5 separate regions of the Homo sapiens genome follow, and regions 1, 2, 4 and 5 are each linked to region 3. The links are contacts of gene promoters, found by promoter capture Hi-C in blood cells and fetal thymus (Javierre and others, 2016). All regions are on one chromosome and are shown on one strand. The core of a region is centred on a gene start or on the middle of the fragment in contact, and the rest is flanking DNA. Distances in the headings are between cores, read along the strand shown. Region 1 holds the start of TINAGL1 (tubulointerstitial nephritis antigen like 1). Region 2 holds the start of SYNC (syncoilin, intermediate filament protein). Region 3 holds the start of TXLNA (taxilin alpha). Region 4 holds the start of FNDC5 (fibronectin type III domain containing 5). Region 5 holds the start of PEF1 (penta-EF-hand domain containing 1).

Region 1 (5,410 bases), core at 1,862-4,361, 600 kb after region 3:
GCTGCAGTCAGAGCTTTCCTTCCTGGCGCCCCCTTCTCCCTCTGACTCTGCAGTGACAGCAGGAATAGCTGGGAGGAATAGCCCAGCCCAAGCCAGGAGGGGTGGGGAAGGATCTCAGTTCAAGGGTGACCCCTGGGCCAGGCACCCATGGCTGGCCATGCTTGAGGAATGTTGTTGGAATGATGTTAGATAAGTTGACTTGGTCAGTGTTAAAATTCCTCTATTGCAGATGAGGAAACTGAGGTTCAAAGAAGGGAAAAGACTTCTCCCTTGCAAAAGGGGTCAGGGATAAGATTTGAACCAAGTCTGTCAGCCACAGGCTCACAAAGCAAGACCCCTCTAAGCTCCAAACACTCACCAACGGTTACAGTTGTCCCAGTACGTTCCCAAGACTGGATAGATACGACCTCCATGCATACATCCTGTTGGAAGGGAAGAGAAGAGAAGTGGAACCAGAACCAGAGAGGATGGGCTAATTGGCCAGGTCCTTGGAGGTCAGGTACCTTGAACCTTTCCAAGATTCTCTCTCTTTCTCTCTCTCTGTCTCACACACACACACACATACCAGCTCTCACTGAAATTAAACTATAACTGAAGACATCACACACACACACACACACACACACCAGCTGTCACTAAAATTAAACTATAACTGAAGGCATCACACACACACACACACACATACCAGCTCTCACTGAAATTGAAGCCAAACTATAACTGAAGATATCACACACACACACACACACACCAGCTCTCACTGAGATTAAGCTATAACTGAAGACATCACACACACACACACCAGCTCTCACTGAAATTAAACTATAACTGAAGACATCACACACACACACACCAGCTCTCACTGAAATTAAACTATAACTGAAGACATCACACACACACACACACACCAGCTCTCACTGAGATTAAGCTATAACTGAAGACATCACACACACACACACACACACACACACCAGCTCTCACTGAAATTAAACTATAACTGAAGACATCACACACACACACACCAGCTCTCACTGAAATTAAGCTATACTGAAGACAACACACACACACACACACACCAGCTCTCACTGAAATTAAGCTATAACTGAAGACATCACACACACACACACACATACCAGCTCTCACTGAAATTAAACTATAACTGAAGACATCACACACACACACACACACACACACCAGCTGTCACTAAAATTAAACTATAACTGAAGGCATCACACACACACACACACACATACCAGCTCTCACTGAAATTGAAGCCAAACTATAACTGAAGATATCACACACACACACACACACACCAGCTCTCACTGAAATTAAGCTATAACTGAAGACATCACACACACACACACACACACACACACACACACCAGCTCTCACTGAAATTAAACTATAACTGAAGACAAATCCTGCAGGGTCACACACCAACTGCTGTTTGGGAAGTTCTTCAATGATTCCAACCTGGATTCCTCTTACTTTACTTGGATGCCAGCCACAACATTCCTGGGATCCTTTTCCATTTAAATAAGTTAGGGCTTGGAGATGGGGAGTGGGAGGAGCATGGGGAAGCCAAGGCCCAGAGAAGGTAAGCAACCGTCCTAAGATAACACAGCACTCTTGAGATGACAGCTCAGGTATGCAGTCTGCCGGCCCAAGCCCCATGGAACTGTGGGAAGGAACGCAAGTGATTCTCCTATTGGACAGGGGCAAGTGCATGGAAAAGGATGATGGTGAGGCTGAAAGCAGGAAAAGATTTGACCCATCTCCCAGGTATGAGCAGCCATCTCGGGGCACAGGATCCTAGAATCCTCAGCAAAGGCAGAAAAATGGCTAAGATGACCCTCACCAACCCATATGTGCCTTATCAGCCCAAGAGTGAGTCAGCAGGTGCGGCCAGCACCTTCCGTGTCTGGAAAAGAGACAGGATTGGGAGAAAATGTGGGAGGTTGCCCTTTCCCTGGGCCAAATTAGAATTCTAACCAAGGAGCTTCTTCAGTCTTGCTGGAGAGTAAAGTTCCCAGAGGGGCAGGGAAGAGTCCCAGATTCTACAGAGCTTCCCCTGGAAATGTCAGTGCATCCATCAGCTTTGCTCTTGAGCCTTGCTGAGTCTGAGGTGGACAAAGTGACCCACCCTCCTGGCCATCTTAGTGCCCACCTTGGATCGGGGGAAAAGGGGGTGGCACGCCGAGGCAGAAGTCCCAGAAGTCAGGGCAGCAGTCGGAGACCGTGCGGTTGCAGAAGAGGTCACAGTAACAGATGGCGCCCAGGTAGGGCAGGGCACAGTCGTCGGCACGGCCGCGGCAGCACAGGTCCTGCTCCTGGCAGTACCGGCCTCCCGCGTCCCGGATGCCCCGCAGGTGCAGACCCGGTGCTAGCTCCCGGCGCCCACGACCCTGCTGGGCACCCAGAGCCAAGTGGCCAGCCAGCGGCAGCAACAGCAGTAGCCCCAGTGGACATCGCCACATGGTGGCTCCTGGGCCCTGGGGGGCAGAGATGGTGGGCAGCAGAGACTCCCTGGAACACCAGGGATGAGTCTCCCAGTTTCCTGGAGCTGTGAGTTCAAGAGGGCCCAGCAGGGAGGGAGATCCCGATTCCTGAGTCCCCAGGCAGGACACGGGCAGAGGAGCCCCAGTGTGTGGGCCCTGGCTATAGGGGGATGGGGACTGGGCAGAAACGGAGCCCCTCCCTGACCTAGGCAGGGACCTTCAAGGACAAGGAAATGAGGGTGGTGGCATTCTTGGTGCTCCCACCCAACACTCATCCTGTGGACCCAAGGTCTTCTCTCCTGTCCTAGGTCTCTCTGCCCTCCAGCAGCCTCCATCCCTGACCTGGGTCCTTGACTTTGTGCTTTCCTGTCTCCCCCGGTCTTTTGGGTACACCTCTCTTCTGTTCCTGTGTCCCTCTGTCCCCCTCCACTGTCCCTCTCTCTGCCATCTGTCTTGGTTCCTCTACCTGCCCCCTCCCCCTGTTTCTTCTCTGTCTACACCTTCCGCCCTCTGAGCAGGGGAGCGTCCCTACCTGGTGAAGGTGTGGGCTGGGGCCCAGGCTGGCCCGCGCGCCTCCGCCTCCTGGCTCTGCGACCGCCGGACGCTCAAAGTCAAGAGAGGAGCGCGGGGCGGGGCGCTTTTTGTACCGCCCGCCCTCTGCACCGCCCCAGCAGTGGCGGAAGGGAGGGGCGCCTGGCTTGTACCTGGAGTAACTACCCCACAACTCATGGGCTTGCAGGGTGGAGAAACGACAAGCACACGATTGTCCTGGCTGGGTCTCCTGTGGCGGAAGCCGTTCCCTTAGGGGAACCCCAAGCAGGAAGGATTGCGGTTTCACACTGGGAAGGACTTCACAGTGGGCATCCCTGTGGAGCTGAGGGGCTCTGGTGGAGAAGGGGGGATATGGGCAGCCGAGCTCTGGGTTATGGACACAAGTTTGGGAAATGATGGGGAGGGCATGTGAGGCAAAATTCTGTAAGCCTCTCCTGACCCCTCGGTAATAAAAATAGCCATGCACACCCCTCTCCACTGTGCCCCCTAGGCTTGGGTGCCGCCCCCCTAGCCACCCCAGCTCCTAGGAATGATTGGAATTCCAGGAGTATGATCCTTAGGTGCCCTGGGCGGCTCATCCCTGGGAGGTGGGCAGGGTGTGGGGGTGGCCTCTGCACCCTTTGATCCCTTGTTGAGTCTGCCTTCCCTTGCCTGCTTGGGCCCCTAGACGAGCACTGCCCTCTCTAGCAAACCCAAGGGCATCCTGCTTGGCACCTGTCCCCCTCCAAGGGTCCAAAGGCAAGGGCCCTACCAGCTGGCACCCCCTGCAGAGGCCCTCCTTCCTGCCGCAGGCATAAACCTTTCTTTGCCCAGGCTGGCCTGGGACCCAAACAATGGGGCTTCTGTCCCGCCAGGTCTGCCGTCACCTTTTACCTCCCTATTGTGCAACGCCCTCTCTTCAACAGGTTGGGCCCAGGCCAGAGGTCTCTACCAGCAAAGAGGATAAAAGAGACTACACCTGGACAAACCCTCCCAGGCCCAGGCCTGAGCCTCACATGTGGCCCCGGGGAAGGCATCAGGGACTCCCTTTGCCCTCCCACTGACCTCCCTGCAAACCTCCCCCAAACCAAGGGGCATCCTCAGCTGGCCAGACCCTGGGGGAAGGGAGAGAGCCGAGGATCACCGGCACCTGTGGCTGGGTTACCCCTGCCATGGACCACTGGGTGGTGAGTCACCAAGGGGGTCCTGCCCTGGTGGTGGGGGTGGAGGGATAATATCCGGGGGCCCCAGCACTGGCACTAACACACCCAGGAGCTGCCCATCTGCTCCCTGCAGGGACCTGGGAGGACAAAGCCTAGGTGGGAAACTGAGGCTCAGAAGAATGCACTTGCCTGAGGTCGTGCAGCCAGAACACAGGCTCCCTGCCTGCCACCAGCCCACTCCTTTACCCCTAGTCACCCTTAGTCACCCACTACAGGTCTCAACGTGCTCCTGGTTGGGAAGTCTCTTTTCTTATCTAAACTCCATTCATCTTACTGCAGGACGGGCCCCTCGGTATTGGTAAATGTCATATCCTCAGGGTAAGAGATGAAAGCTGCTTTCTTTCAAAAGAGTTCGTGTCCAGAGTTCCTACTTTTATGGTACCTACTTTTTCATGGTTCTGGGGCTGGGGGCTTGTTTAGAGACATCTGGCCTCTCTTTTGCCCAAAATCACACCGCATAGGCTACCCTCGTGAGTCTGGGTGTGTTATCTCTGTGTGCATGTATGCATGTGTATATCTGAGTTGCGGTGTTTGTGGGGGTGTTTCTGCTTCTGCTTGAGTCTGTCAGTCCACATCTGATCGTCTGGGTTTTTTTTGCTTTTTGTTTTTTGTTTTTTTTTGAGACAAGGTCTCACTTTGTCACCCAGGCTGGAGTACAGTGGCGCGATCTCGACTCACTGAAGCCTTGACCTCCTGGGCTCAAGTAATCCTCCCACCTCAGCTTCCTGAGTAACTGGGACTACAGGTGCACACCGCCATGCCTGCCTGAATTTTTTTTGTATTTGTAGTAGAGATGGGGTTTCACCATGTTGCCCAGGCTGGTCTCCAACTCCTGAGCTCAAGCAATCCGCCTGCCTTGGCCTTCCGAAGTGTGTTTACCTGTCTATCTGCTATGTGCCTGTGTATCTGTGAGTCTGGATATTTTGGCTATCTGCCTGTCCTTGTCTGACTGATTGTCTGCTTGTCTATCCATTTACCTGTCCATCTGCTACATACCTGTGCATCTGTGTGTGTGTATCTGTCTGGATGTTGTCTCTGTGTCCATTATGGATCTGTCTGTCTGCCAGCGTGTGTTGTTTGCCTGCATTTGTGCACTTGTTGGCTTGTATGTCTGTGTGTGTGTCCTGCCTGTGCCTCCCTGTCTAAGAGGTGTCTGTG
Region 2 (5,351 bases), core at 202-2,701, 520 kb before region 3:
GCCTCTGGCAGGCCTGCCCTTGCTGCCTTAGCTCTCCTCTGGCGGGCAGCAGATGTCAAATGCCCAGCAGCTGAGGCTTCGCCAGCCTCCTCCCCTGGAATAGTTCGGGGGTAAGTCAGAAAATGACCAGCAGCCTCAAAACCTGGCTTTTTCTCGTGCGTACCTTACAAGGGTATATTTGGCTGCCCTGGGTGTTAAATCTTCCACCCCCTTGCATTAGACAGAGAAATATAAATATACAGCCACAGGCAGCACACTCAGACGCGAGGATGAATGAACATTTATCAACCCCCAGTCACGCACAAGCACACAGTCAGAGTCACAAGCGGGACCATATGCATGCCCCCCACACAGAGTCAAAACCGCCAGCCCCACAAAGACACTCCACCATGGCACAATCACCACACACATTCACCCTGAGATCACACAATCACACATCCACATGCTCACACACAGACATGTACCCCACAATCACCGCAGAGTCACACAGGGGCACACAAGCCCACACACATTCAACACCACGGCATGCTTCCCCCACCGGCCTCCCAGGCACCCCAGCCCCTGGGGCTTGTTATGGTGCCAGCATTCTTCTGCGATTGAGTCAAAGACCTCCCCAGACAGGGTAGCTAAGTGGAAAAAGGAATCCGAAGGAAGAACGCCTGAAGCCCAGGTCTGGGAAGGGGCCCAGCAGCTTCTCTCTTGGGGAGAAAGACGTCAGTGCTGGTTTGACCCTCACACTAGTGGGCTGAGGACGTGGGGGGAGGTATGTCTTGAAGTTGACAGAAGTGGGCTGAGTGGGGTGACAGGTGGAGCAGGAGAGAGACCCCAGGAAGCCTCAAAGGGTGGGGCAGAAAGTGGGGTTAAATATGGACTCAATGTGATAGGCGTAAACTCCTCCGCAGTTCTCTCTAACCCCAGCCACCCAGCCCGCCCCCAGGCTCCAGGCTGTCCCCAAACGCGCGGGGTGTGGCCGTGAACCCTCCTCCCCGGCCGCGCCCTGCCCCGCCCTTCACGACAGCTGCCGGGGACAGCCCGGAGTGCCCAGAGGGTGGCTGCGGCCCTTCCCCTCTTGGGTGGGGACCAGAGGGCGCTGAGCGGCAGCGGACACCCCCAAACACTCGCGGGAGAGGGGTGCTGGCTCCCTTTGAGCAGCCCGCCCAACCCTGCCTCCACCCTCCCAGGCTGGACAGGGAAGGTGCTCCCTGGGGCTTCAGACCCCCCTTCTGACTCCCCCTGCAACGGGACCTCACGAAAGGAAGGGTGGAGAGAAGGTTCGGGAAGACGAGGGGGCTGGGAGGTTTGGAAAGACAGCTCCAGGCCCCCGTTCCCACCCCCGCCCCAGGCTGGTCCGGGAGGGGCAGCCTCTCCCCGCCCCCAGGTCCGCGCGGCCGCTCCCTCCTCCCCCGGCAGGAGCCCCGGCCAAGTGGGCGCGCCCGGCCCGGGGCCGGCCGGGATCCGGTGTCGGTTGCAGCTGGCAGTGCGGCGGGCGCGGGCGCCGGAGCGAGGGGCCCGCGGGCCCGGCTATTAATAACGCGGCCGCCAGCCCGGGGTCGCGCAGCCATGGCCAGCCCGGAGCCCCGGCGCGGCGGGGACGGCGCCGCCCAGGCCGCGAGGTAGGACAGTGCCGGGCCCGCGTCGCCGCCCCGCTGGGGAAGGGGTGCTGCTGGACGGGTTCCCTTTCCCCCCGACCGCGGGCGTCTTTCGCCTGTCTAGGGGTAGTGGTCCAGCCGGGGTGGGGCACTGGAGCCGCCTCGTGAGGGGACATCGGGGAGTCGGGCCGTCCCGGGGTCCTGGCACCTCCGTTTGTCTGTGGCTTTTTATAATACCCCTCCCCCTCCCGGGACTACATGAAAATTAACCCTTCCAGGCGAGTGGGCATCCACCGCTCAAGTGCCATTTGGCCCATAGCAGCCAAAGACACTTCTCGCTAGCCTTCATTCCTCCCTGCAAATGTCAGTTGGAGACAGAGGCCTCCCCTGCTGAAGTGGCTGTGTGGAAGCCACTTGGTGCAAGGCTGGGCATCTGCCAGCTTGAAGTTAAGAGTCTGTCAGGGCTTGTTCTCTCCCGTCTGGCCTGGGATGGGTGGGGGAAGGGTCCAGGGGCCCTCCCCACTATCCCTCCTGGCAGGGCACGGCTGATTATTGGGGGAAGGGACCTGTGGCTGAGGGGTTTGGGGTGAGGTGTATTTCTGTCCCAGGTCATACTGTGGCTCTGGGACTTCCCAGTGTACCAAGAGGTGAGGGTGCAAATACATAGCTCCCGACACCCCTTCACTGTCACACAGGGGCACAAAGCTGAGCGGTCTTACACACACACACTCACCCATACTGCTGTCCACACCTACAGCTACAGTCAGACACACGGACTCTTGCCTGCACAATGTCACATGGACTCCCAGCCACATCCCTGAACAGGGTTGGAGAGCTCTGCGGTTCTCTGGGGACAGGGACAGAGTGGCAGAGGCAGGCTGCCCAGGGCCCAAGGAAGCCCGAGGTCAGGGGCCCCAACTAAGCTGGCTTCCTCTCCTCTGAGCCTCCTGTCATCTGCTTCTTTCCCTCCTCTCTCTGTTTAAAAGAGGCGGCTGTGTGAGGGCAGCACCCAGCAGAGGCCTGGCACCATGGGTGGGGTGGTGGAGGCAGCACGATGTGTGCTAACAGCACAGCTTGGAGGTCAGGAGGCCTGGGTTTTACTTCCAGCTTTGCCATTCGACCTTGGGCAGATTTCCTCCTTGGAGTTCATCTGGTTTCTGCCTGTCTGCCCTTACAGAGCCCCACCCTAGGATATAGAGCAGAATGAGAACTCTGCTTGTCCTTAGGAAACTCACTATCAGGGAGACAGACACATGTACTTCTGTAACTGGAGCAATAAGTGTGAAGATGTGCTGCATACAGAGTGCCCTGAGAACACACATGGGGCTGTCTGGGAGATACTTTACGGAAGAGATGAAGTTTGAGCAGGGCTTGAAGGATGAGTAGAAATTTGTTAGATAGATAGAAGTATATTGTGGGCCCGGCGCGGTGGCTCACGCCTGTAATCCCAGCACTTTGGGACGCCGAGGTGTGCGGATCACCTGAGGTCAGGAGTTCAAGACCAGCCCGGCCAACATGGTGAAACCCGGCTCTACTAAAAATACAAAAATTAGCCAGGCGTGGTGGCGTGTGCCTGTAATCCCAGTTACTTGGGAGGCTGAGACAGGAGACTTGCTTGAACCCAGGAGGCAGAGGCTGCAGTGAGCGGAGATTACACCATTGCACTCCAGCCTGGGCAACAAGAGTGAAACTCCATCTCAAAAAAAAAAAAAGTATATTGTGACTGCTGCATGCCAGGCTTTTTATATGTGCTGTAGTTACCTCTTTTGGACCTCACGCCTATCCTAGGAGGGTGGTAAATACTGCAGGCCTTCTCCAGCCTCCACCACTTACAACAGTTGTGGAACCTTGTGTGAGTTCTTACTCTGTGCATTGGCTTCCTCATCTATAAAATGGAGATAATAGATGAAGATTCTTTCTTTCTTTCTTTTTTTGAGACAGAGTCTTGCTCTTGTTGCTCAGGCTGGAGGGCAATGGCGCAATCTCAGTTCACTGCAACCTCTGTCTCCCAGGTTCAAGCAATCCTCCTGCTTCAGCCTCCTGAGTAGCTAGGATTACAGGCACACACCACCATACCCAGCTAATCGTTTGTATTTTTAGTAGAGACGGAGTTTCACCATGTTGGCCAGGCTGGTCTCAAACTCCTGACCTCAGGTGATCCACCCGCCTCGGCCTCCCAAAGTGCTGGGATTACAGGCGTGAGCCACTGCACCCAGCCAATAGATGATGAGGATTCTATAAATGAGTATTCATGTAAAATGCCTAGAATAATCTTGAACACGGTGAAGTCATTCCAAGGTGGGCGGCTCGGCACGAGAATGATGAAAGGGCCGTCTGCTGGGAAAGCAGGGACTGTTGAATATCAGAGTGAGTTTGGCTGGCTGAGCAGGTGCATCCTTCCTGGCCCTGGCTCTAGGAGCTCTGCCTTCCCAGGTAGTACAGGGTTCTCTAGTTAGGTGGTTTTTGAGAAGCTGCAATTCTCAGCTGGACACCGTGGGCTTAGAGTAGGAGGTGTAAAAAGTTAATGCAAGCTCTAGGATGTCAAGCATTGGGTGGGTTGCAGGAATAATGTGAGAGGAAGCTAAAAAAGGTATGTTTGGGGCCGGGTGTGGTGGCTTATGCCTGTAATCCCAGCACTTTGGGAGGCCGAGGCAGGCGGATCATGAGGTCAGGAGTTCGAGACCAGCCTGACCAAGATGGTGAAACCCTGTCTCTTCTAAAAATACAAAAAATTAGCCAGGCATGGTGGTGGGCGCCTGTAGTCTCAGCTACTCGGGAGGCTGAGGTAGAGAATTGCTTGAAACCAGGAGCCGGAGGTTGCAGTGAGCCGAGATTGCACCACTGCACTCCAGCCTGGGCAACAGAGCGAGACTCTGGCTCAAAAAAAGAAAAAAAAAAAAAAAGGTATGTTTGGGCCACATCTTTAAGGACCTTGAAACCATGCGTAGCAATTTGGGTATTTATTGGTGAAGTGGAGCAATAGTTCACTCTGTGTTGTAGCAAGTTAACTGTGGTGGTGTAGAGAATAGATTGAGGTGAGGAGAGGAGGAAGTCCTTTTAGAAGACCAGGACAAAAGTGCCAGTGAGACAGGATGTCTTGGAGTAGGGCCCTGATAGTGGGATGCAGAAGAGGGGGATGGAGACTGTAGTCTTTCTAAGATAGAAAGGTCACTTTTTGGCCAGGCGCAGTGACTCGTGCCTGTAATCCCAGCACTTTGGGAGGCCATGATCCCTGGTGGATCACGAGGTCAGGAGATTGAGACCATCCTGGCCAACATGGTGAAACCCTGTCTCTACTAAATACACAAAAATTAGCCAGGCGTGGTGGCAGGCACCTATAGTCTCAGCTACTCAGGAGGCTGAGGCAGGAGAATCACTTGAACCCAGGAGGAGGAGGTTGCAGTGAGCTGAGACCACGCCACTGCACTCCAGCCTGGGCGACAGAGTGAAGCTCCATCTCAAAAAAAAAAAAAAAAAAGAAAAGAAAAGTCACTTCTCAGTGAACTGGCTATACAGGGGAGGGAAAGAGCTGTCTGAAGATTTCTTGCCTGTGGCCGGATGTGGTGGCTCATGCCTGTAATCCCAGCACTTTGGGAGGTCTAGGTAGGAGGATCGCTTGAGCTCAGGAGTTTGAGACCAGCCTGAGCAACATAGTGAGACTTCATCTCTACAAAAAGTTAAAAAATTAGCGGGTGTGGCGCTACGTGCCTGTAGTCCTGGCTACCCGGGAGGCTGAGGCAGGAGGATGGCTTGAGCCGGGGA
Region 3 (5,538 bases), core at 1,331-3,830:
ACTGCAATTCGCAGGCATGTGTGCCAAATCCAACCCACGGATGGGTTTTGTTTGGCTCTTACCATTTTAGCTGCTAACTATGAAAAAATCTAGAGTTCTCACATAACTCTAGATTTCTGGCTTTTCTTTATTTAAAAAAAAAAAAAAAAAAAAAAAGCCTGACTGCACCCAGCCTGTAGTTTTGCCTGCTCTCAGTTGGCTAGCTGAGAGCAACTAATCAGGAAGCAGTAAAGCCTCCATCTTCAGGTGGCCCCATGGCCAGCCCAGCTTATGCAGATATTTGGGTTTTCAACTCTGGCCTAGTCTAATTTTCTTACTGTAAAGAGAAATATAAACTAAGACCCAGAGAGGAGAAGGGACACACCCAAGGTCACACAGCAGGTAGTACTGGCTGGCACAGGAGCCTACCCTAGCCTCCCGTCTCCATTTTCTCAAAGAGAGAACAGGTCCCATGCCAAGCTCCAGTTGCTCCAAAACCCAGAAGGCTTTGTGCTGGTAACTCCTGCATCTCTCTATGCCGTGGCCCCCACATCCCTGGCTTTGATTAGACTAGAGTGACTTGCTGCTCTGAGAAGTACCGTTTTCCTTTGAATCCTGGCAGAACAGACTGGCCCAGAGAACGTCAAGTCCAAACTCCCTCTCCTCACCAGCTTCACAAAGAGCCGCCCTCTGCTCACCCAAACCCTTGGCTTTTTTCTTCTCCTGTGGCCTTCGATGGTCTCGGTCTCCGACCTCGTCACTCTGCCGGATCTCTTCTGTGTTTGGATCCCCCTTGGAGGGTTCCTTCTCTCCATTGACTACTGGAGTTGGTTCAGGCTCCCCATTCCTTGCCACATAGGTCCGGGACTTCTCTGCATCTTCGGGTTCAGCCGGCTCACCCTGTGCCCCATCCTCGCCGGGGCCCCCCTGGTTATTGTCCACACAGTATGTGCTCAGTATGTCTTCCAGTTGGCGGCTCAGCTCCTCAGAGACATCACGAAGGGCCCCAGACTGAGCCGTTCTGGCTTGAGCCCCTACAGCAGGAGAGGATGAGGGGTAGAGTGAGAAAGAAGACGATTATACCACTGGTTGGGATTTTTCAGGCCCAGCCAAACTCATCAGTTTGAGTTAAATGTTGCCTAACTTTTTTTTTTATGGAAACTGAGAAGCAAGAATGGAGTATCATTCAGCAAATCTAGTTCCTGTCAGAATTTAGATTCGAAACATCTTTTAAATCAAGAAATTATAGTAATCGTTGCCTAACTTCTTTAAGTCTGTTTACTTGTAAAATGACACAACTATTTCTCACTACCACCCGAACATATTTGTTAGATCATAAAAGTATGTAAAGCATCAGCACACAGGGATGGCACGGAGCAACTTCTAGTCCATCTCCTTCCCCCCCACAAAACCATTTCTTGCCATTCAGATCATTCTAGAAATGCCTCAAACAGGAAGGGCAGTTAGCTGCTGGTGGCTGAGGTGTTTCTAACGGGACCTGGATTTCCTGACTGGGTGCCTCGTTTGGCTGCCACCTGACTTAATCCCGTCGGAGCTTCTCTCCAGAACTCTGTTCCTGTGCTTAGAGGGGGCAGCTCCGCCAACTCGCCAGAGCGCAGGGGGGACCGCGGCCCCCAGCACTGTCCTCTCATTCTACATCTCCTCCTCCCGGACAACCTGGCCTCGGCCTGTAAGTCCAGAAGCGAGGCCGACCCCACAGCTCCTCCCCCTGCCCGCTGGCAACGCAGAGCTGGCACACACCCTCCGGCTTCCGAGGAGCCTGGCTGCTGCCGGGACCTTCTGCTTCTACTGCAGGAGCCGCCTGGCTGGGCCGCTCCTGGGCTCCCTCGGGTCCTGCTTCCGGTTGTCCTGGGCTGCTTTTTGGATTGGATTGTTTGGCAGCCCCGTTCTTTTTGTCTTGGTTCTTCATTGTGATGAGCGATGCTGGGTCAGGAGAAGATCCTTTAGAAACAAACACAGTTGCTATTTTCCAGACTTCGAAATTCTTCGCAGCCTGGATCAGAAATCCCCACAGCAGGCGCACAAAGCTTCTTAAAATAAACGGACCGGCAGGCCCGGGCGGAGGGCGCCAACGGCTCTCTGGTCTTGGCGGGTCAGGAGAGCCCGACGTGCCGGGGCAGGCTTTCGGGGCGCAGCTCCCACAGCGGGTGAGGGAAGAGGCCTCTTCTCCCTGGAGCCACTTCCCGGCACAACCGGCCCCCTCGCGGCAGGCCGGGCGCGGGATTGGCTCAGGGCCGGAGACTGACGTGGCGGGACTCCCGGCACCGCCCCCGCCCCTCAGGCCCCACGTGCGCCCCCCGCGCGCGCAGCCACCCACGCCCCGCGCGCCCTCAAGCCGCGAGGCACGCCCGCGCATGCGCATATCCCCAGACAGCCCCCGGCCCACGCGGGGAGTTGGCGTGATTTCCCCACAGGCCGAGAACATCCCGGCCCGCACACTCTCAAATAGTCTCGCCCACCGGCCGCCGCTGCACGTACCTCACCGCCGACGTCCGATGGCTTCCCCACCTCTGGCCTCGCACCGGAAACCCCGAGTAACTGCTGCCGGCCAGCCGCCTGCTCCCGCCTCAGCCAATCAATAGCCGGCGCCGGCGCGGAGCTTGCTGGGAAGGACGAAGCGAGGGCGGCCTCGGAGGCGGGCGCCCCGGCAGGGCGGGGCAGGGAAAAGACTACGCGTCCCTCTTTACGCAGGGGCTAGCCGCAGATCCCAAGGTGCATAAGGGACTGTAGTCCTGGGAGTCCAAAAGGAGCCCGTCATTCTGCACGAGTGCCCATGTCAACCTTGTTTCTATCTCGCAGAAGCTATGCTTCAACTCCCAAAGCCTTGCGCCTGGCTGTTGTTTCCTGCAGGCCTCCATCAAACCTTCCTCCCTGGCCGTGAACAAATGTGACTCCATCCGGGAACTCCGAGGACTCGGGAAGAGGGATAGAGTCCTGGGCTGAGACTCAGGAGACCCATACTCCAGTCCCAACTTCATCACGGATTTGCTGTGTGGCTGGACGTTCTGTTCTCTCTCTGGGCCTCAATGTCCTTCTTCCAAAGGAGGCTTTTAATAACAATAGCAGTTCCTTGAACGCTTACTGTGTGCTTTCCCGCTATCTAATAGCTTGGTTCTCATAACCACTCATAGAAATAACTACTATCTGTTATCCCCATTTTACGGAAAAGGACAGTAAGAGAAAGGTTAGGTAACTTATCCAAGGTCATATCGATAGTGAGTGGTTAAAACAGGGATTCAAAACTGGTAAGTCTGAGACCAGCACCCAGGTAATTACCTGGTCTTTCACCCAGAAGAAACACTACCACAGCAGGTTTCCCTGAGGCAGTCAAGGTAACTTGTGAAAGTAGGTCATATTTTCCCCTCTCCATTACCATTTTGGCAGTCAGTTCCTCAGAAAGGTGCTGAGTTAGGCTTCAGGCATATTCATGAGCCTTTTCTCTACCCCACACTCTACAAAGTCTCACTGGGGTTAAAGTAGAAAAAACCCCCACAGTTCCCTACACATGAGATCACAATTCTGTATCCCCATTGCTTCTGGATAATGAAATCAAACCCAACAATCCTTGTGCCTGGAATTTGAAGCCTAAGAGATTTGACTTTTGCCAAACCCAAAATTTTTTGAGGCCCAGTTCAAAGGTCACTTCAGAGCCTTCCCAGTGCTCTGCAAACCGTACTTGCTCCCTAGGTCTGCAGAGTTGTTACAGCATTAGCAGTGAGGTGTTGAAATTACTATTTACTTATAAGTCAGTTAATTTTGCAAGAACTGTTGGCTAAATAGTCTAGTCCCAGAGCCTCGCATCAGGCTGTGGGTAGAGAAGATTGTAAACTGTTGTGCTAATTGAGCGTTGGTTTAGGGCTGTTAGGATGTTAAATATTTCCCCCAAAGGCTCAGTGAAAGACTTCAGAGCCGTGCATGTTGGATTTCAGATTTTCAGATTGGGGAAGCTCAACCGGTAAAATTTGAGAAAATCCCAAATTGGAAACACTTCTGGTCCCAAGCATGTTGGATAAGAGATATTCAATTTTTAGTATAATGATGGAACTGAGGCTCAGAAAGGTTGGAATCTAGATGTCCTGAAACCAAGGCCCTGATTATTTCTAGAAAAGCATTCTGGAAATCTCTTGAGAAGGCACCATATAAATCAGGCCTTGATAGATTTCCATATAACAAGGGTGTTCTAGGTGAGATAAAGAACATAAAAATGTATGCATGGGGTGAGGGATAGAGGATGTAGTAGAAGGGTCAACAATAGCCTAGAGGGGCCAGTTGGGTAATGAGAACAGGCAAGAATAATTGACAGAAACATAGGTTAACAAGTTACTTTCTCCTTTGCTATAAACAATATATAGCAACAATATTAGCACCTGCCAGAGTGAGGGAGAGGTGGTGATTGCAGTAAAATACAGCAGCTCTTGCACATTGTTAGCAAGCAGAAACTCAGGCCGGGTAGGGCCAGATTGTATTTTTGTTTTTTAGACAGGTTTTACTCAGCTGCTGGGGCTGGAGTGCAGTGATCATAATAGCTCACTGCAGACTCGACCACCTGGACTCAAGTGATCCCCTTGCCCCAGCCTCCCAAGTAGCTAGGATTACAGGTATGTGCCACCACAGCCAGCTAACTTTTAAATTTTTTTGTAGAGACAGATCTCACTTTGCTGCCCAGGCTGGTCTTGAACTCCTGGCCTCAAGTGATCCTCCTACCTTGGCCTCCCAAAGGGTTGGGATTACAGGCATGAGCCACAGTGCTTGGCCTCTTTTTAAAAATGGAGACTTCAGGACAGTCTTTTTCAAGACAGACATTTGATTTAAAAAAAAAATGTTGGCAACTAATTCAAACTTAAACACGCTCTGCCAAGCAAAACCTTCCTGTGGGTTCAATCAACTTTCTGGCTGCTTGTCTGTAATCTCTGCTTTAGGAATTATCTAAACTGAAGGGAGGAGTCTGTGAACTATTTGATCTTAAGAGGTTCAGGCTGGGCACGATGGCTCATGCCTGTAATCCCAGCACTTTGGGAGGCGGAGGCAGGCGGATCACCTGAGGTCAAGAGTTCAAGACCAGCCTGGCCAACGTGAAACCCCGTCTCTACTAAAAATACAAAAATTAGCTGGGCGTGGTGGCGGGCACCTGTAATCCCAGCTATTTGGGAGGCTGAGGCAGGAGAATCGCTTGAACCCAGGAGGCAGAGGTTGCAGTGAACCGAGATCACGCCATTGTACTCCAGCCTGGATGCCAAGAATAAAAAACTCCGTTTCAAAAAAAAAAAAAAGGTTCAAAGGGCTGTAGAGTGGTGCTGATGAAACTAAGTCAAAATCATTTAGAGAAACTCTAGAAAATGCAAACTAAACTACAGTGACAGCCACAGATCAGTGGTTGCTGGAGGTGGGGCAGAAAGGAGGGATTCTCAAGCGGGAAGCTTACGGCTTATGAAGGTCATAGATATATTCACTATCTTGTGGTTGTTTTATGGGTGCATATGTGTTTCAATTTATCAACGTGTATATACTTTAAATATGTACAGTTTATTGTATGTCAAT
Region 4 (5,515 bases), core at 2,349-4,848, 690 kb before region 3:
TGATGTGATGTCCTCTGGTGAGCCCTGAGCCCTGGATCCTTGTCCTCAGAGGTCCTTAGAGGTGAGGGGATACGGTAGGCAGACTGGATCAAGCCCTCAACTTGCAGCCGCATAATTTAATTTGAGACATGTCTCTATAGTTCACTGGCTGTGTGACACAGGGCAAGTCCCCTTACCTCTCTGATCCTCAGCTTCCTGATATGGAATGGAAGTTAATGACACATACCAGCCTAAGACTCAAAATAACATGGATAAAGTCCGGGCGCGGTGGCTCACGCCTGTAATCCCAGCACTTTAGGAGGCTGAGGTGGGTGGATCACCTGAGATCAGGAGTTCGAGACCAGCCTGGCCAACATGATGAAACCCCGTCTCTACTAAAAATAAAAAAATTAGCCAGGCATGGTGGTGGGCACCTGTAGTCCCAGCTACTCAGGAGGCTGAGGCAGGACAATCACTTGAACCTGGGGAGCAGAGATTGCAGCAAGCCAAGATCACGCCACTGCACTCCAGCCTGGGCAAAAGAATGAAACTCCGTCTCAAAATAAAATAAAACAATAACATGGATAAAGTAGGTGCTCAATTATTATATCCCCAAAGCAACTCCTGACCTCCTGATTCTTCCTGTGATTTGCAGGGCGGGTGAGGGGTGTCTAGTGACCATCCTTGACTGGGGCCATGACCATCCTAGGCTATAAAAAGGAAACTTCCTATTCTAAATGGGTACCCGGGGCTGGCTTGGGCACCTGCAGCCTGAGTTAGGTGCTGAGACTCTGGACACGCAGGAGGGTCCAAATGCTGGTGACCCCATTAGGTGTCAATGTGTAAGTGACCGGCCAGCCCTCAAGGGGGTCTCTGTGGAGTCCTCCAAATGAAGCCCAGTGAGTGCAGCTTGGGAGGACAGAGGCGCACCCTTAGTCCCTACCCAGGTCCTCATGGTTTCACTCATTCTTTCACTGCTGTGTTTCCAGAATATTACACAGGGCCTGGTCCATAATAGGTGCTCAATAAACATATGATGGAAGAATGATTTTTTTTCCATACAGTCAACAATCATTTAATGAGCCCCAACTGCATCGTAAGCCTTGCGCTAAGGGATGGGGTACATAAAGTGGCTGGGTTTTTTTGAGATGGAGTCTTTCTCTGTCACCCAGGCTGGAATGCAGTGGTGTGCTCAGCTCACTGAAACCTCTGCATCCCAGGTTCAAATGATTCTCATGCCTCAGCCTCCAGAGTAGCTGGGATTACAGGCACACACCACCATGCCCGGCTAATTTTGTATTTTTAGTAGAGACGGGGTTTCACCATGTTGGCCAGGCTGGTCTCGAACTCCTGACCTCAGGTGATCCACCCACCTCGGACTCCCACAGTGCTGGGATTACAGGCGTGAGCCAGCGCCCTGGCCTGCAGTGGCTGCTTCTGACAGCTCCCTCCCAAGTTCACCCAGGGCTCCACTAAATCCTCCCAGCCAGCTCTCACTGGCTGCCAGATTCCAGGCACCAGGGCTTTCCCCAGAATTAAGGCCCAAGCACCCCATGCATCATGAGGACTGAGAAGGCTGTACCCCCACAGTCACAACTCTCCAAATCCTCCAAGCCCCCTCCTTCAGCCGCCTTCTCTCTCAAGCCCTCAGGCACTGCCATCTCCTCCCTCCCAATGCCCTACATCTATCTAGGTTTTACCCAAAGAGGCCAGCAGATGGCGCCAAGGTTCCCCTTTCCCCAGCGCTGGACTGGAGGCCAAGACCCCACCAGGACCCTCCCTCCTTTTCTCCCCTGCAGGGACGGGAGTAGATTCTGTGTCCTCTAACTGAACCCTCTCCTTCCTGCTGGTTCCTGTGCTGGAGGCCTGAAGAGGCTCCAGTTGCTCCTGCGGGCCTCCTGGTTGTCTTCCTGTCTGATGGATGGGGGGTGGGGGGTCCCTAGGGGCTAAGCTGCAGCTGGTGGGGCGGGGCCGGGTGGGGTGGGGCAGGCAGCAGCTGCGGGGAGAAAGAGAGAGAAGATAATAAGGGGAGAGAAAGAGAAAGAGAGCAAAGAGAAAAGAGAGAGAGAGGTGCTCTGGCTCCGGGGCTCTTCTCCCAAACGGGTCGAGGTCCCAGCTGAGGCTCTCCCAGGACAAGGTATGTGGCGGGGGAAATGATAGGGCTGGGCAGTGTCACCCTGCCGAGTGGGGCAGGTCTGGGGGCACTGAGGGGATGGGCAGGAAAATTCTGCTGCTCAACAAGAGCCCCTAAGCTCGCTTCCATCTCACCCCTTCCAAGGTGACCAAGGAGGAACACAGGGCCAGCGAAGGAGTCCTGGGTGGGCATAAGGAGAGGAGGGTTGTCTATCGCTCCTCTTGACCCACTGTGTGAATCTGCACCAAGCTCTTCCCATCGGTAGACCTCACTTCCTTAATGTAAAACCAGGGGGATGGAGAGGAAGACCCTGAAGACGTTTCTGTGGCAGAACTTTGCAAGACGTCTCCTTTCCAAAGAAAATTAGCCCTTCCAGGGCTTCTGGAAAACCTTTAAGACCCAAAGGAATGCCCCGCTAGTAGTGGAATTTCGGATAGTCGTGGGAGGGGGCTCAGGGGTTCTTGCTGAGACAAAAGGCCCTGAGCCCTGGTCCATGCCTCTCTCCTCCACCTTGTTTCTCTGGCTGAGATGAGGGAAGGGGGCTGGAGCCACTCCCCTTCTCAGAGATGCTCTTAGAGATTGCTGCAGACTGTTTTCTGGCTGGGGAGGAGCTGGCCCCGGCCAATTCTAGAGTCTCACGAATCTCCGGATGGGTGAAGTCACTCTGGGTGGGGAGACAGTTCAGTTAAGCACAGCTTTGGGAGTCAGATCAGCCTGTGTTCAAATCCTGGCTCTGCTGCGGGTCCCTGGACAAGTCAAGTAGCCTGTCCAAGCTGCAGGCTCCTCCTGTGCAAAGTGTGCAGAGTATGACTTTACAGGGTTGCCCTGAGAATTAAGCCACATAATGCAAAGAAAGCTCAGCATAGTATCTGGCCCCTGGTAGACGCTCATTACTGCCCTCACTATGGGGATGAAAATGAAGGAAAAGGACTGGCCTGGGGTCACAGAGCTGGACTCTCCAGTGAGACAGAGCAGCCTCTTCCCAACCCCACTGGAAACACGGAGCCCTAGTGTCCACTTAGCACTCTCTGCTCACCCCAGCCTTACTGTGATCTCTCCCCTCTGCTCCCGTCTGCCCCAGCCGCAAGGCCTCGGGTCTACCGTGGAATGAGGGGATCCCTAGGCCCAGGGAAGGGAGGCGCGCTTAGGGGTGGGGGCACAAACGGGCATCTCGGTGGCACTTGTCCTCTCTCTACCCTGGGAAAGGGCAGAAAGCGGCAGCCAAGTCAGGGCTGTGCACGGGAGAGAGAGTGACCGCGGCGGGGGCGCGGAGAACCCCGCTGGGCTCCCGCTCGGTGAGAGGGCGGGAGCCGTGGGTCCGCGAAGCCCCTTCCTCCCCGGCAGAGGACCTAATAGGCAGCGGGGGCGGGAGTGGGGGCGCCCTCCGGTCCTCACCCCGCCCCCGCACCTCTCCCCGCAGCGGGGGCGCCCCGCCCCCCGGGCGCCCGACGTGGACGCGGCCGCCGCCACCGCCGCCGCGCGGGAGTCGCTGTCCGCGGAGCCGACATGCAGGCGGCTCGGGGCGGCGCAGGGCGGCCGGAGCGGCCGGGCCGGCCGGGCCGGGGGCCGGAGCGCGAGCGCGAGCGGCCGCCGGGCGCCGGAGCCGCGTCCCCCTGCGCCGCCCCGGGCCTGCCGGCCGGAGGAGCCACCATACACCCCGGGTCGCCGAGCGCCTGGCCGCCCCGCGCCCGCGCCGCGCTCCGCCTGTGGCTGGGCTGCGTCTGCTTCGCGCTGGTGCAGGCGGGTAAGGGGGCCCGGGGCGGGGGGCCGGCGCCGGGGCAGGCTCCTCTCGAGCCCAGCTACCTGGGAGTCCCCTGGTCCTTTCTCTGCCCCCTAGGGACTCCTGTCTCGGCCCAAACACTGCTCCCCTAACCCAGCCCCCAGCGTCTTCCTACCTCCTTGACCCCCAGACCTGTCCTTCAGTTTCCAAATCTCCCCTGTCACCTCAGCCCTGGGTTTCCTAGGGTCTTGTGGTCCCCAGTCCCCTAATCCCATTCCCCTAACCCCAGGTCTTTGCCTCAGCTTCCCTAGCTCCCTTCTTTGACCCAGGGAGCAGCTGAGGACACCAGTTCCCCCACCTGGGCCTCTCTCTGTGTCCCCAGGACCTCTCAAAGCCCTGCAAGCCAACTCTGCAGGGGCAGATGGGGTCCCGCTGTGCAGGAGCACGTGTGAAGGGGATGGGGGCTGGCACCTGAGGGCGCAGGGCGTGGGGTGGGCCCCGGCACCCCTGATCTGGTACAGTGTCTGGCCTGCCCCATGGGGCCGGCCCGTCCTTGCCCAGCCTCTCCTGCCACTCTGTCTTTGTCCCTCCTGGCTGCCGCTGCCCGGCTCATCTCTCCCTCCGTGGCTCGGGGAGCGCTCTCTCGCAGCTGTCTTTCTCAGATGCCCCACTTCTCTGTCCTCTGGTTCTGTGTCTGCCACCACCTGTCTGTGTCCTGTCTCTCCACCTCCCCCTCCATGTCTGGCTCTGTCTCCCTCAGGTCCCAGGCCCAGCCCCCTGGGTCTCAAGTTCACTCTCTGTGGGGTGAGGGGTGCTGCTCAGGCGCAGCTCTGCCCCGTGCTGCACCTGCCCCTTGGAAGATACTGAGCCTTATGTGACTGCACTGCCCCTCTCCTGGACGGTTTTCCTCACTGACCCCCACTATCCCTATCACTCTCACCCCCACTTCCCTCCTGTCTCTTCTGGAGTGATTCCTCATTCATCCTCTTCCCCTACCTGTTCTCTCCTCTCCACTCGCCATGGAGGGGCCCTGCTCTGAGTGACCCCATCTTCCCCTGCCACCTCCCCACCTGCATCTTGGGGCTGGAAGAGCATGGATAAGAGGCTCACACAGACTCTTCCGCAGGCTTTATTCTGCCTGGGCCACCACAGCTCTGAGGATACTTCTGTTCTCCTCACTCCCAGTCCAGGGCTCACCCCAGCCTGACACTTCTCGATCTCTGGGTCTTTCTCCTTCGCGCAAGGTCACTCATTGGACAGGGCAGTATTGTCAAAAGAGCACTGGACTGGGGAGTCCTTTTGTCTGCTTTTCATCAGCTAACCTTCAGTTTCTGTCCACCTATGTCCCCTACATAACTCTCTCCACAACTCTAACCACCCATCCCTTAGATAGGGCCCCGGCCCAGGCCCATCACTTTGAGCCTTGGACCCCTCATGGGGCCGGCCTGTGGCCAGCAGGGGCTTCCGTCCCAGTCATGAGGAGCCTGGGGCCTCTTGGGCTTGGTTCTTCAACCCACTGAAGAGCTGAGAGCCATGTCACTGGACCCCACTTGAGGCCTTAGTTTCTTCCTTCCCCTCCTGCATGGCCTTCCCCAGGTTTCCCCTTCTTACTTATGAGACAGTGGGTCTGGGCCTCACAATAGGGGATGCTCAGGCTTAGGTGCCTCCCCGTCCCCCAGACA
Region 5 (6,193 bases), core at 845-3,344, 530 kb after region 3:
AAATGGAGATGAGGGAGGTGAGGGAGTGTGTGGAGAAAAAAAGGACACACAGGAATGATCTTAGGTTTTTGGCCTGAGAGACTGGGTGGATTTTCTGAGATGGAGAGGAATGGGTTTTGGGGAAAACACCAAAAGAAAACTCTTATACAAGGCAGGCTGGAATACCACACAGTGACAGTACCAAGTGCAAAGGGGGAGTGGCAAGAGAGAGTGGCTAACTCTGGAGCTAAGGGGAATGTGGGAGGGTTAGGTGGAGAATGGAATTGGAACTGAGCCTTGCAGGACTGGAGTTGGGAGGGCTGCTGGTCCAGGTGAAAGGAGTGGTTTGAACCTAAGTTTGGGGCATGAGCAGGTATAATAAGCTCATTTTCAAATTTACACATTTGTTCCTGTCAGCTAAGAAAAGTGAAATTTAGAGAGGTTAAATAACTTGCCTAAATAAAATGTGGTAGATATACACTGTGGAATACTATGCAGCCATAAAAAAGGAACAAGATCATGTCCTTTGCAGGGACGTGGATGGAATTGGAAGCCATTATCCTCAGCAAACTAACAGAGAAACAGAAAACCAAACACCGCATGTTACCACTTATAAGTGGGAGCTGAATGAGGAGAGCACATACACCACTGGGGTCTGTCGGAGCGTAGAGGGAGGTGGGAAGAGGGAGAGCATCAGGAAGAATAGCTAATGGATGCTGGGCTTAACACTTGGGTGATGGGATGATGTGTGCGACAAACCACCATGGCACACATTTACCTATGTAACAAACCACATCCTGCTCATATACCCCTGATCTTAAAAGTTGGAAATTAAAAACAAACAAACAAAAAACCTGCCTAAGGTGATACAGTTAGAAAGTGATAAAACAAAGATCCTCCCTCCAAAGCAGAAGTGCTGAATGGTGGAACTGAGCACAGAAATACAGAGTAGCAGAAGGGGCCGTAAGATTGGAAAGTTGAGGCTGGGCCAGATTCTGAAGGGCCTGGAGTACCAGAATGAAGAGATTGGGCCTTATTTTGTAGGCGTGGATGAAGAGCATCCATTGTAGGCTGTGTAGTGGGCAAGTGGCATGATCAGCACTGTGATTTTGGAAAGTGCACTTGGTTAGATAGATGGACTAGACTGGATAACAGTTCGTAACATTCATTTATTCATTTATTTTAATAATCGTGTCAGTCGCTATACTAGGTACTGGAGTTATAATGACAAGCAAAAACAGACAAAACCCTAGCCCACATGAAAGAACTTGACAAAGAAATCAAATAAGCACACAAATAAGTGTAGAAACGGAACCACTGAGTGGCAAGTACATGGTGCTGAGATCACTCGGTCACCAGGATTTGACCTACGATGGGGACCGACCTAGACCTCCCTGCTGAGAACTGGACATCCATTGACCCCGGTTCTAGGCGACCCACTGTGAGCTAGGGCAAGGCAACTGCCTCTCTGCACCTCAGTTTCCCCATTTATGAAGAAAGAGGCACTAGATAATTCAATTTTCCTCCAACTCTAATGATCTGGGGTTTTTTTCTCCAAAGACCACAGATCTGTATCCCACTACAAGGGTACTAACTGGTACCCAGTACCTTGACATTAGAGGAGTAATTCCGCCATCGCCTCTCCCTACCGGGAAGAGTCGGTCGGTTCCCCGTTGTCAGGGCAACCGCCTGGCCACCGCCCCTCGTCTCCTTTCCCGCGGCTCATCTGCGGAAACTCAGGAGCTACTCCAGCAATTACGTCACTATCATGCGTCCCATTTGCCAGGTTATAACATGGCTACCGCAGCAACACCCCACCCAGGCTTCTCACTAAATTTCCCAACCTGACCACCTCTTCGGCCCACTCCACCTCAGGAAAAGGAGGAACATTAGCGCTGGTACAGCCGCCAAGACTTCCGGAAGCTCCATCAATCACTTAGCTCCCCTGGTCTCTCGGGTAGGCATCCGCCCACCGCCCCCATCGTCACTTCCGTCGGCCGACAGCACCCAAGATTGACAGGCGCGGACGTCCAATCAGATGCGGGCCCAGCCCCAAAGCCGAGACGAGGGGCGGGTTTGAGAGCGGAAAGCCCCACCCCTTGCCTGAGTGTGACGTCAGAATCACCATGGCCAGCTATCCTTACCGGCAGGTGAGTGTGTGAGGGGCCCGCGAATCCAGGTAGCGGCGGTGCCAGGCGCAGGCCCGACGTCCCCCTGCTCTTTCTCCCCGCTTTCTCCGCGCCCTTCCCACGATGGGTTCGCTTCAGCGAGGCCTTGCGCTGTAGAGAACCGAAAAGGGACCGTCGGTCGCGCCCTGCTCACGTCATGAAGGACCGCACATTCGCGAGGTCGTGTCGCGCCCCCTTGACGTCGCTCACTCGAGGATTTGGGGACCTTGGACCCCACAGGTCCAGGCTGGCGCTGGCCTGGGCTCCACAGCCTCCCAAGGCCCTCATGGGGGCCTTGGGCGGGGGCATCAGCCATGACCGGAGGTTTAGAGTTCTGGTTCCGCCGATCTCATTTGGGGCGTCGGATAAAAATCCAGGCTTCCGGACCCACCCCACACTGCATCAGAGTCATCAGGAAACTCTGGTTGTAGCAGGCGCCACAAGTGAGCTGGTTTGACCACTGACTTAGTTCAACACCGCCATTTCGCGTGTAGAAAAGTGAACCCCGAGAAGACACAGAACTTACCTGAAGTCACCAGGCAGTTAGGCAGCAGGGCCGAGGTCAGAACCCGGGCTATCTTCAGATGCCTCTTCCCCAGCGTATCTTGATTCAGTCAGGAATACCGCAGCAAGGTGATTCTGTGGCCAGAATTCTTTGTTGGGTGATAGTAGGGTGTTGAAGTGCACTTTGGTGTCAGAGGTAGGTTCATATCTTAGCTCTACCACCTAAATAGTTGTGAGCCCTTGAGCAAGCTGTTTTGCCTTTCTGAGTCCAAGTTTCCGCCTGTAAAATAGGGCCGAATAATAGGATCTGCCTCATAAAGCTGTTGTGGAGAGTCAGGAGGTGATGCTTACGAAGCGTTTGGTACATAGTGAGGTGTAACATGTGTTGCCCTTTAGCATTTTGATTTTTAGTAGACTTCTAAAAGGCCAGTGCCCGGAGGGTCCTCAAAATAGAGCCCTCATTTTACAGAGGAGGAAATGAAGCCCACAGAGGGCTGCGATCACACAGTTATTTAGGAGATGAAATCCATAAACGAAATGTGGGAAAACAAGATCAATTGGTATATTACACAGTGCTCAACTGAGTTTAGTCACAGGCCAAAAGATGTAACAGTCCTTCCAGGGAGTGCAGTCTTGTGCGGGTTACACAGTGTTTGGACCTCCATTATCCTAATCATGAAGTCCCTATCGGCATGCAGGTATTATTACCCCTAATTAACTGCTGAGGAGCAAACCCAAAGAGGTTAAGTGGCTTCCCAAAAGTCACACGTAGTAAGTGAGGGTGAGGCCATGACCAGAGCTTAGGACTTCTCTTATTGCATCCTTAGAGAGAGGTAGGAAAGAGAGAGGCCAGTGCGGGCTGGAGTTAGGAAGTGTAGCATAGCAGTTGCTTCCTAAAGTCCATTCCATTTGCTGAGTCTTGGGAGGTTTTAATAGATATTGTTAATATAGGAGGATTCTGTAGTTAACTAAAGTTTTGGAAATACTCTTAAGTATAGCTGAATAAGTTTATTGACCACAAGCTATTTCAGAATCCTTAATTTGCTAATGTACATTGTAAATCATCCAGAAAGGAATATAATATGCAGTATTTCTTAAACATATCTAACCATAGAAACTCCGCCTCCCGGCTTTCTTTTCAGATGTCTGGTCACTTTTTTGACTCTAGTATTTCTGAGGAACACAGGCTGAAAAAACATTCATAGCGCCTTGTTTCCCAGTGGCTGGTCTTCTGCCTCAGAATCAGCTGAGAGCTTGTTTAAGAAAGCACACTTTTGGGTCCCACTTCAGACCTGTTCTGTACCCAGGAATCTACATGCTAATAAGCATTAGGGACAATTGGTGTGCATCCTAAAAGCAGTGACAGGTTAGAGAGAACTGTGCTAGAATTCTAGCTGTATTACTTAATAGTTATATACCCCTGGACAAACTAAGGGCTCTGAGCCTCAGCTTCCTCACCTGTATAAAGGGAGAAATAATACCTGTGAAAAGGGCTAAAATGAGGTTAAAATGCAGGGAGCCTGGCGTGTTGCTAGTGCCTAGTACATGCCAGTGTCTGGTGGCAGCTCTTGCTGCCGTGACTGCTCTCATGATGCCATGCTGCCTGGGCTATTCCTGGAGTGAAATACTGAAAAGGAGCACAGAGAGAAGAGTCTGGAATAGAAAAAGAAATGTTGTTTTTTTTTCCTACCATACCCTTGTCCGCCTCCTGGTCTCAGGTGTTCTAAGAAAGGAAACGAGTTGTTTTAAAGCATCTCAGTCAGTGCTGCCTCCCCTCCACCCACTACATAGCTTTGGAGGATTCCAGCCTATTGTTAGGAGTCAGAATTCCTGTAATTTTCCACTGCTTCCAGTCCAGGGTACCCAAGCAGGGACTGGGTATTGGAGTAGTAAAATTCAAGCACCCTTTGGTCCTATGGGGGAACGAGCTTGGTGGATTTCAGTGCTTAAGAGCTTAGTTTTTGAGGCCAGAGAGAGTTGATTTCAAATCCCTGCTTTGTCACTCCCTTGCAGAAGTTTGTTGCAAAAGTCTGAGACTCAGTTTTCCCTTTTTTGAAAAAAATTTTTTATTTATTTGTTTATTTTTAAGACAGAGTCTTGCTCTGTCGCCCAGGCTGGAGTGCAATGGCACAATCTTGGCTCACTGCAACCTCCGTCTCCCGGGTTCAAGCAGTTCTCCTGCCTCAGCCTCCCAAGTAGCTGGAATTACAGGCGCACGCCACCACACCTGGCTAATTTTTTGTATTTTTAGTAGAGACGGGGTTTCGCCATGTTGGCCAGGCTGGTCTCAAACTCCTAACCTCAGGTGATCCACCTGCCTCAGCCTCCCACAGTGTTGGGATTACAGGCGTGAGCCACCACGCCTGGACTAGTTTTCCCTTCTTTAGAATGGGGTCATAATAGTATCTACCTCAGAATTACTCTAAAGATTAAATGAGAAAATCCACGTAAAGTGCTAGGTATGGTGTTGGGCATGTAGAATACTCCAAGTGGAGGAGTAATGCAGTTATGCAGATTGAAGAGGCAATGTGATAAGTATTCAATGGGAGTAAGTGTAAGGTACAGCACGGGAGAGTGAGATACCTAACTCAGTCTAGGGGTGCATTTTTAAAAGAGGTGATATTTAAGCCAACAACTGAATCACTGGTAGAAATTAGCTGAGTGAAGAAAGGAATGCTATTCCAGCAGAGGAAATAGCTGCACAAAGCCCATGAAGCAGGTAAGACAGCCTAGTATTTTGGAGGAACTTTAAGAAGTTCAGTGTAGTTGTAGTGATGTGGGGGAAAGGGGTAGGAAATAAGACTAGAAAGGTAAGCAAGGGCCAGATCCCAAAGGGCCTTGTATGCCTTTTTGGGGAGTGTGACTTCATCCTAAGAGTAGTGAGGGAGCCAGTGAAGTGTTTTGTCCCATTTGTGCTTTGGAGTGCTTACTGTGGGGTGCTGTGAGAATGGATTGAAGCAGGAGAGACAGGAGGCAGGGATACCGGTTTTGACGCTATTGAGGTAATCTAGGCTAAAGAGAACTGTGACCTGGTAGAGGAGATTTGAGAAGCACTTGGGAGGTAGATTTGAGAAAACTTGGCCTTAGGTTTGGATGATTAAGCAGAACGGAGCTCCATTCACTGAGATGAGAACACAGGGAGGCATGGGTTTGGAGGGAAGGTCCAGTAGGCTGCTGGATATGTGGGTCTGTAGCTCAGGAGTGATGAAGCTGGAAAGATTTGAAAGTGTGAGCACAGAGGTAATTGAAGTCTGGGGATGGTTCTTGGCTCATTGTTTATTGGTTGCGTGCTTCTCTCCTATTTCAAGTGGCTCTGCTGGTGAATGCTTGAACTGTTCCTCTTGTCTTCCTGTGATTGTTTAACCCCTTAGTTTGGGCTTCCCACCTCCTCCTGTGCACTTGAAGGGTAGCTCTGGGGTACAAACTTGTCTTTGCAATGCTCCCTCCTCCATTCGTCATCAGGGCTCAGCTTGGAACAGCCGTTGATACCTTTAAGCTTCACAGGGGTCTTGAGGTTAGAAGACTTGAGTCCTCAGAACTGG

Evidence for each region. The method cuts DNA at HindIII sites, captures the fragments that hold promoters and counts their contacts. A CHiCAGO score of 5 or more calls a contact.
Region 1: a contact is called between the fragment with the promoter of TINAGL1 here and the fragment with the promoter of TXLNA in region 3, in 2 of 17 cell types (M0 macrophages and fetal thymus). The highest score is 6.0, in M0 macrophages.
Region 2: a contact is called between the fragment with the promoter of SYNC here and the fragment with the promoter of TXLNA in region 3, in 6 of 17 cell types (erythroblasts, M0 macrophages, total CD4 T cells and 3 more). The highest score is 9.1, in erythroblasts.
Region 4: the fragment with the promoter of FNDC5 here is called in contact with the fragment with the promoter of TXLNA in region 3 in 3 of 17 cell types (fetal thymus, M0 macrophages and megakaryocytes); the score reaches 8.5 in fetal thymus.
Region 5: a contact is called between the fragment with the promoter of PEF1 here and the fragment with the promoter of TXLNA in region 3, in 16 of 17 cell types (monocytes, fetal thymus, activated CD4 T cells and 13 more). The highest score is 27.9, in monocytes.

The regions. Positions count from the first base shown.
Region 1 is chr1:31,574,216-31,579,625 of GRCh38, reverse strand. TINAGL1 (tubulointerstitial nephritis antigen like 1) reads right to left here and starts at 3,111. Exons shown (of 12, transcript NM_022164.3): 1 at 3,031-3,111; 2 at 2,168-2,492; 3 at 359-422. The coding sequence starts at 2,477. It overlaps LOC105378626 (a long non-coding RNA gene), which reads left to right and starts at 1,729. Exons shown (of 6, transcript NR_188671.1): 1 at 1,729-1,782; 2 at 3,956-4,216. RefSeq lists an enhancer at 2,580-3,300. The HindIII fragment of the contact is 15,245 bases long and covers 1-5,410 here.
Region 2 is chr1:32,698,870-32,704,220 of GRCh38, reverse strand. SYNC (syncoilin, intermediate filament protein) reads left to right here and starts at 1,451. Exons shown (of 5, transcript NM_030786.3): 1 at 1,451-1,613. The coding sequence starts at 1,561. RefSeq lists silencers at 902-991, 1,042-1,091 and enhancers at 452-1,217, 1,218-1,983. The HindIII fragment of the contact is 11,042 bases long and covers 1-5,351 here.
Region 3 is chr1:32,176,717-32,182,254 of GRCh38, reverse strand. It overlaps TXLNA (taxilin alpha), which reads right to left and starts at 2,580. Exons shown (of 11, transcript NM_175852.4): 1 at 2,479-2,580; 2 at 1,741-1,941; 3 at 678-1,013. The coding sequence starts at 1,909. RefSeq lists enhancers at 1,577-1,626, 1,637-1,796, 1,917-1,996, 1,884-2,642, 2,643-3,402 and silencers at 2,197-2,376, 2,517-2,706. The HindIII fragment of the contact is 3,390 bases long and covers 2,030-5,419 here.
Region 4 is chr1:32,868,995-32,874,509 of GRCh38, reverse strand. It overlaps FNDC5 (fibronectin type III domain containing 5), which reads left to right and starts at 3,598. Exons shown (of 6, transcript NM_001441683.1): 1 at 3,598-3,857; 2 at 5,513-5,515. The coding sequence starts at 3,620. RefSeq lists an enhancer at 974-1,830. The HindIII fragment of the contact is 9,260 bases long and covers 1-5,515 here.
Region 5 is chr1:31,640,777-31,646,969 of GRCh38, reverse strand. It overlaps PEF1 (penta-EF-hand domain containing 1), which reads left to right and starts at 2,094. Exons shown (of 5, transcript NM_012392.4): 1 at 2,094-2,129. The coding sequence starts at 2,106. It overlaps PEF1-AS1 (PEF1 and COL16A1 antisense RNA 1), which reads right to left and starts at 2,834. Exons shown (of 6, transcript NR_184313.1): 1 at 2,674-2,834; 2 at 2,124-2,258. RefSeq lists enhancers at 1,625-1,964, 2,205-2,274, 1,594-2,364. The HindIII fragment of the contact is 8,144 bases long and covers 1-6,149 here.